Regions from separate parts of the Homo sapiens genome. Here region 2 is linked to region 1. Evidence: promoter capture Hi-C in human tissues and cell types (Jung and others, 2019). All regions are on one chromosome and are shown on one strand. The core of a region is centred on a gene start or on the middle of the fragment in contact, and the rest is flanking DNA. Distances in the headings are between cores, read along the strand shown.

The links. The method cuts DNA at HindIII sites, captures the fragments that hold promoters and counts their contacts. A contact is called where the count stands out against the background at its distance.
Region 2: the fragment with the promoter of PPP6R1 here is called in contact with the fragment with the promoter of SBK2 in region 1 in 2 of the 25 tissues and cell types used here (adrenal gland and aorta).

What each region holds. Positions count from the first base shown.
Region 1 is chr19:55,535,286-55,539,217 of GRCh38, reverse strand. SBK2 (SH3 domain binding kinase family member 2) reads left to right here and starts at 2,085. Exons shown (of 4, transcript NM_001370096.2): 1 at 2,085-2,164; 2 at 2,922-3,176. The coding sequence starts at 2,924. RefSeq lists a silencer at 1,182-1,476. The HindIII fragment of the contact is 44,152 bases long and covers 1-3,932 here.
Region 2 is chr19:55,256,903-55,260,834 of GRCh38, reverse strand. It overlaps PPP6R1 (protein phosphatase 6 regulatory subunit 1), which reads left to right and starts at 1,818. Exons shown (of 24, transcript NM_014931.4): 1 at 1,818-2,400. RefSeq lists enhancers at 1,181-1,230, 1,311-1,360, 1,391-1,590, 1,596-2,570 and silencers at 1,420-1,714, 1,621-1,900, 2,031-2,130, 2,301-2,360, 3,545-3,738. The HindIII fragment of the contact is 34,304 bases long and covers 1-3,932 here.

The sequences.
Region 1 (3,932 bases), core at 836-3,335:
ATGGGAACTCTCCGCAGGATCTTGGCAACCATTTTATAAACCTAAAATGATTCCAAAATAAAAAGTTTATTTAAAAAAATGAAGTGACTTCACATCAGTCATGGCAGTATAAACCTGAAGGGTGGGCCAGACACGGTGGCTTATGGCTGTAATCCCAGCACTTTGGGAGGCTGAGGCGGGTGGATCACCTGAGGTCAGGAGTTCGAGGCCAGCCTGACCAACATGGTAAAACCCTGTCTCTACTAAAAATATAAGAATTATCCAGGAGTGGTGGCAGGCACCTGTAGTCCCAGCTACTCTGGAGGCCAAGGCATGAGAATCGCTTGAACCTGGGAGGTGGAGATTGCAGTGAGCTGAGATTGGGCCACTGCACTCAGCCTGGGCAACAGAGCAAGACCCTGTCTCAAAAAAATAAAAATAGCCCAGGCACAGTGGCTCACCTCTGTAATCCCAGCACTTTGGGAGGCTGAGGCGGGTGGATCACCAGGTCAGGAGATCAAGACCATCCTGGCCAACATGGTGAAACCCTGTCTCTACTAAAACATACAAAAATTAGCCAGGCGTGGTGGCAAATGCCCGTAATTCCAGCTACTCGGGAGGCTGAGGCAAGAGAATCACTCGAACCAGAGAGTTGGAGGTTGCAGTGAGCCGAGATCACGTCACTGCACTCCAGTCTGGGTGACAGAGCGAGATTCCGTCTCAAAAAGCAAAAAAAAAAAAAAAAAAAAGAAATAAAAAACCCTGAAGGGTGGGTGCAACCGTCCCAGAAAAAAACAGGGGTCTGAAGTCCCACTGTGGCCCAAGGCTTGGGGACTTCCTAGTGGGGCTTAATCTCCCTGTGCTTACAGCAGGGAGGCACTCACTGGCCTGTATTCCTGTTATGCGCTTTCAAACTATTTTTATTGTTATTCCTCTCTTTGGAATCAGGAGCCCTCAGGCCCTCCTCCCTCAGACCCAGGAGTCCAGGTCCTCAACCCCCTCCTCCCTCAGGCCCAGGAGTCCAGGTCCTCAACCCCCTCCACCCTCAGGCCCAGGAGTCCGGGTCCTCAACCCCCTCCTCCCTCAGACCTAGGAGTCCAGGTCCTCAACCCCCTCCTCCATCAGGCCCAGGAGTCCGGGTCCCGTGTAGAAAATGAAATCATTTCTGGAACCCACCCCTGCCTTGACCCCACCCAGCTGCCCCATCAATGCCCCATTGACAGGTCAGACACAAGTGCTTGGAGAGGGGTGTCCAGGGGATCAGATGCTGGGGTCTAGTTTGGGGAAAGAATGAGACAATGAGATTCCAGAACGATGCAGTGTGGGATGACCTCAGACTCAGAGGGGCGGGAAGCAGGTGCTGGAGCAACTGGGAAGAGAGGCCTTGAGGGGGTGGGGAGGCCTCAGTTCTGCCGGAAAACTTCAGATGGGTGGGGGAGGCTGAGGCCTGGACTCCTGGGTCTGAGGGAGGAGGGACTGGGGCCTGGACTCCTGGGTCTGAGGGAGGAGGGGCTGGGGCCTGGACTCCTGGGTCTGAGGGAGGAGGGGCTGGGGGTCTGGACTCCTAGGTCTGAGGGAGGAGGGGCTGGAGACCTGAATTCCTGGGTCTGAGGGAGGAGGGGCTGGAGACCTAGACTCCTGGGTCTGAGGGAGGAGGGGCTGGGGTCTAGACTCCTGGGTCTGAGGGAGGAGGCACTGGGGGACTGGATTCCTGGGTCTGAGGGAGGGAAAGCTGGGGGCCTGGATTCCTGGGTCTGAGGGAAGAAGAGCTGGGGGCCTGGACTCCTGGGTCTGAGGGAGGAGGGGCTGGGGCCTGGACTCCTGGGTCTGAGGGAGGAGGCACTGGGAGACTGGATTCCTGGGTCTGAGGGAGGAGGCGCTGGGGGCCTGGACTCCTGAGTCTGAGGGAGGAGGAGGGGCTGGGGCCTGGACTCCTGGGTCTGAAGGAGGAGGGCTCAACTCTTGGGTCAGGGTATTCACCTGACCACAGCCAGTTCCAGGAGTCATCACACGATGTCGCTCTGCTCCCAGTGGGGGCAGAAGGGGCGGGCCCAGGGGCGGGGCCTTACGACCCCCAAAGTCGGGGCGGGGTCTTGCTCCTAGGCAGGCCTCTGCTGGCATGAGCCCTAAGTGCCGGGCACTGACCACAGCCGGCGGCCGGAGGGTCAGGAGGGCCTTGGAGGAGGTGAGGTCTGGAGGTCTGAGCCCAGGTTGGGAGGTGGGCAAGGTGCCCTGGCCTGAGGTGGGCAGCACCTGAGGGTGACTGTACCAGGTGGCCCGAGTCCTCGGTCCCTCAGGGGAGCCTGGGCTGCACCTGGAGGCTGTAGAGCGGTGGAGGGTGAGGGAAACAGAATCAGGGGGTCCCCAGTTGTGTGAATTGTATGAGGTTCCGGGAGAGAGGTGGGCTGGGGGCCTGGACCCCTGGGCCTGGCGGAGGAGGGGCTGGGGGGCTGGGTCGGAGGGAGGTGGGTGGGCTGTGAAAGTGGGACCCCAGGCCTGTCAGGAGCTTGGGGACTGATCCCAAGTGCTCGGTCCCATGCAGGACCCAGGCGTCCCAGGCCCTCTGCACAGCCCGCCCTCCCAGCCCTGAGCCCAAGAGCACCTGTTTGTTCTCAGGAGACAGAGTCTACTCATCCACCCCCAGGGCCCAAGTCTGTTTGCTTTGGAAACAAGATGGGGGAGTCTCAGTTATCTGGTTCATCTTTCAACCTCAGGGTGGGCGGGTGGCGGCGGCGGCACGCGGGCAGGGACATCTGTGACCTGGGGCTTGAACTCACACCAGACTTGTCTCCCCACCTCTCACCAAGAGGGAGACTGAGTCACAATGAGAAGCGCGATGAGCCCCCAGCCCCTCCTCCCTCAGACCCAGGAGTCCAGACCCCCAGTCCCCTCCTCCCTTGGGCCTGGGACCTGAGCCTGGGCACCCCTCTCTGTTCTCGCAGAGATGCCCGGCAAACAGTCTGAGGAAGGGCCGGCGGAGGCAGGGGCTTCGGAGGACAGCGAGGAGGAGGGTCTGGGCGGCCTGACATTAGAGGAGCTCCAGCAGGGCCAGGAGGCTGCCCGCGCGCTGGAGGACATGATGACGCTGAGTGCTCAGACCCTGGTCCGAGCCGAGGTGGACGAGCTCTACGAGGAAGTGCGTCCCCTGGGCCAGGGTTGCTATGGCCGCGTCCTTCTGGTCACCCATCGTCAGAAAGGTACGAGGCTGTGGGGCCAGAGGTGGCAGGGTTCAGCTGGGGGCGGGGCACGGGCCTGGGGTAGCCCAGGCTGGGGAGGCTGGCAGGCCTGAATCAAGTCTTACCTCTGCCCTCCAAAGCTGTGTGTTTTTTGTTTTTTGTTCTTTTGGTTGGTTGGTTGTTTTTGAGACAGTCTGGCTCTGCCGCCCAGGCTGGAGTGCAGTGGCACAATCTCACTGCAACTTCCACCTCCCAGGTTCAAGTGTTCCTCCTGCCTCAGCCTCCCATGTAGCTAGGACTATAGGCATGCACTACCACACCCAGCTACATTTGTGTGTGTGTGTATTTTTCTTTCTTAGTAGAGATGAGGTTTCACTCTGTTGGCCAGGGTGGTCTCGTACTCCTGGCCTCCAGTGATCCGCCTGCCTCAGCCTCCCAATTGCTGGGATTACAGGCATGAGCCACGGTGCCCTGCCAAAAACTGTGTTTTGAGGAACTCCCTTGCCCTCTCTGAGTCTCAGCTTCCTCCTTTGGAAAATGTGGGTGATGATTTCTACTTGGAAGAATGGTGGATCCTCTGAGTGAATGTGGACTGCTCTAGTTGCTGGGGTTGTATAATGCTGGGTAAGACAGAGCTCCCAGCTCAGGAGCCTCCTGTGGCGGCTGTAGTGGTCACCGTGGGATGATGCAGAGTGATGCTGTCTGCTAAGCACTTAGCAAGGCCGGCACACAGTGGGTGCGCAGGACAGCTCCCCACTACCCTGGGCCTTTCTGCCA
Region 2 (3,932 bases), core at 569-3,068, 280 kb after region 1:
TTTCAATTCTAATGCAAACACAATGTATATCTGTGAGTTCTGCTGGGTGGAAATCCAGACTTCAGTCATTAAAGCCCCCACAGCTTCCCAGCTTCCATTTGAAGGGTAGGGACTATAGCCACATCCTTATCCCTCAGTTCCTGACCTCTGTGTTAAAACAGTGTGGCAATGATGCCATCATATTGTGGAGAAAACAAGGAAGCCAAATGCTGGGTAAAAGACAAAACATCTCTATAGAAAAAAGAGAAAAGGAAATGCCTCTCTGTGATGGTTCATTTCAGGTGTTGACTGGGCTAAGGGATGTCCAGATAGCTGGTAAAACATTATGGGTGTGTCTATGAGGGTATTTCTGGAAGAGACTAGCATTTGAATCGGTAGACTGAATAAAGATCTTCCCTCCCCAGTGTGAGCTGGCATTATCCAATCCATTGAGGGTCTCAATAGAACAAAGAGGGCAAAGGAGGGGTGAATTTGCTCTTTTTTTTTTTTTTTTTTTTTCTCGAGACGGAGTCTCGCTCTGTCACCCAGGCTGGAGTGCAGTGGCCTGATCTGGGCTCACTGCAACATCCACCTCCCGGGTTCAAGTAATTCTCCTGCCTCAGCCTCCTGAGTAGCTGGGATTACAGGCGCACACCGCCACGTCCGGCTATTTTTTGTATTTTAGTAGACACGTGGTTTCACTGTGTTGCCCAGGCTGGTCTCAAACTCCTGAGCTCAGGCAATCCGCCCACCTCGGCCTCCCAAAGTGCTGGGATTATAGGCGTGGGGTCTTGAACTCCTGAGCTCAAGTACAGGCAGGCGTGAGCCACCACGCTGGGCCCTTTGTTTTTGAGACAGGTTCTCGCTCTGTCTCCTAGGATGGAGTGCAGTGGTGCAATCCGGCTCACTGCAGCCTCGGCTCAAGCGATTCTCCTGCCTTAGCCTCCCGAATAGCTGAGACCACAGGCGCGGGCCACCAGGCCCAACTAATTTTTTAAATTTTCTTTTGTAGAGACGGGGGTCTCCCTAGGTTGCCCAGGCTGGTCTCCAACTCCTGGTCTCATGCCATCCTCCGGCCTCGGGCCTCCTAAAGTGTTGTGATTACAAGCGTAAGCCACCGCGCCCGGCCAATTCGGAGTCTTAAAACAAAAACAAAAACAAAAAAGTTCCTCGCGCCCACACGATTTTTACAGTAGGCCTCTAACATGGGTAGAGAGGGGAGCTATTAAAGTTGGGGAAACCGAGGCTCAAAGCCAGAGGGACCTTCATCAATCTAGACACAAGGTCTAGGAGGTCTCTTTCAGTTGATGCTATTAGAAGCTGCTTTGGGCGGAACTGGCAACACCAGCGACCCGGCCGGGACTATCGCCAGCAGACGGAAACGACTGAGGGCCTCTGAGGCTCGGAGGCGGCTAAGCGCGAGAGCCGGACGGAACGAAGGCGCCTGGCTTTGGCTGGAGCGAAAACCAGGTCTGGATTTCGCAAGAGCCCGACCCTGGAGCCAAAGCTCCACTATGATTAGAGGAGACAGAACAGCGAACGGATTTCCAAACGGAGCGAGTGGGAAGGGAAATCCTGGAGCGGAATATTCACGGGGCCTTGGAACGGAGCCGGTGCGCAGCTGCGGCTCACTGAGCTGTCTGGGTTTATTCCGGGGCAGACCGTTGGCACCAACGGGCGCAAGCGCGTCTGCGGCGGCGGGGTTCAAGAGTGGGCGGTGTCGGGAGCGCCCGGGCGCACGCGCACTGCACCGCCCAGGCGTGCACCCCGCCCCCCGCACCTGCGCACCAACACAGCCGCGGGAGGGCGGGGCCTCCTGCGTCGTCCTGCGCTAGGGGGATTGTGGGATAGTGGCGGAGGGAGCCGGGCGTCGGAGGCCCTGAGGCCGGCCGCAGAGCCCGGAGATTGAGCGGCTTTGGGGAAGGGGTGGTTAAGGAAGTAGGCCTCGGCTTCCGTCGGTCGCTGCTCGGCTCTGCGGCCCGTTTGGACCGCGGAGGAGGTCGCCTTCCCCTCCCGTGGGGCGCTCGGTTGGACTGTGGAAACCGGGGCAACTTCCCCCGTCTTCCCGGCTGAGGCGCCTGCGTGGGCCTCGCGACCCGGCTCGCCAACCCGCCTCGGCCCGCACGCCCACCTCGCCTGCGGACCCCGGAGGTGCCTACGCGGACTAGTGACGCCCCCCGCCCGTCGGCAACTCCACCCGGCGCTGACCCCCTCAACTCTGCAGGACCCGGCGCGCGAGGACCCCACGACCCGCGGGCGCCTGCGCGGACCCCGCGAGCCCCGGCGCCTGCGCGAGTCCCCGACGCCGCCCCCGCCCCCACTCACCGGGCCCCGCAGCAGGGGCCGGAGCCGCCGGCGGCGGGGCGGGGGGGGGCGCCCCGATGAGCCCCGAGTGCGAGGAGCCGCCGCCCCCCCTCGCAGGTGAGCGGCCCGCGTCGCCCGACCCTCTCTCTCCAGGGCCAGGCGCCCACGTCTTCCCCTCTCCGCGTCCCCTCAGGCTTTTCCCTCTCGGGACCCCCGCGGGTCTTTTCTGCTTCGGATCCTTTCCCTCCTTCCTTCGGGTTTCCTCTCCACGGCACCCCGTTTCTTCCCCCTCGACCCTCCCCAGTCTCTTAATCTCTTCACCTCAGCTCCGCCGCCACCCTAGTCTCAGTCTCTTGCTCTCGGCCTTTTCCCACTCGCTCTCTGCAGCTGCGCTCCCCAGTCCCTGAGCCTCAGCTCCGCTCTCTTGCCTCTCTGGCCGGTTCCCCGGCCCCCCAGGAGTCTTTCTCCCTGGTTACCCTGGACTTTGCCTGCTTACACCCTTCCCTCTCGCCCCGATCTCTGCCCCGCCACCTCTTCCGTGGCGCAGCCTCCTTAGATCCCCGGAGCTCAGGACTGGAGGAGCGGGGCTTGTTTTCACCTTGACCGACCCTCTCCCGCCTCCGGCTTCTTGTGCGAGGGACCTGGGAGCGGGGCTTCTCTGGAGCAGCCACCACTCGGGCCTGCTTCAGTGAGATGAAGCCTGCTGAGGGCAGGCAGGGAGCCTGGCGCTGGGCACCGAGGAGGGGGCATCAGCCCTAGGCCCTGCCCTGGAGGTGGGGCCGGTCCCTGGAGGGGGTACAAAGGCAGAGCCGGACAGTCACAATTCCTGCGTGTCGTGATCGAGGTGACTTAGGGAGCTGCAGGGGGCCACAGAGCGGGAGGCACTGGTGAGACTGACTGGACGGACGGCTTTTTCTGTCTAGGAAGGATGAGTAGGAGGTGACAGATGGAGAGTGGGAAGAAGGGCCTTCCGGGGGGGGAAGGAGCAGCACGTGCAGATATGTCAAGGAAGGAAGGTCGGAGTCCTGAGTGCAGATGTATTGGGAGGGTGAGGGGCAGAGTAGTTCCGCCCGGCGTGCTTATCCAGGCCTCGAATGGGACCTCTGGTTGGGGTCTTTCTTGCTCGCTCGTAGTACACACAGACATGACCATAGACACCCGCCTGAAAGGCAAGATGTTTCAGGAAAGGAAGCTGCGTAGACTGTCAGGTGCGGTACTGGGTTCACAGTTGTAGAGAAACTGCAGTGGGATTTCATCCAGCCCAAGGGCGAGGGTCTAACTGTTAGCGTGCGCTGCAAATGCAGCAAGGACTCGAGATTGCCTGGATAACACAGGATGAGGACTTGGTTTACATACATGCACAACACACATGGAGACACGGCGCCCGGCCACGTGTGCTTACTAGTGGTGGGATGGCTGTTGGAGCTGCTTGTGCTGTTGAAAATGTTATGCTTTTTTTTTTTTTTTTTTTTTAACTCTAGTTCTGGGATTGGGATCATGAGAAGGCAGTCCAGCTAATTGTTAGAGGATCTTTTGCCAGACAGACCTAGGCCGAGTCCGGCTTCTGCCAAGCGAGACCTTGGACAAGTTGTTCCTCGTCTGTAAGTGGGGATAGCAGACTGCTCTCCTCAGAGGGTGGATCTAGGGAT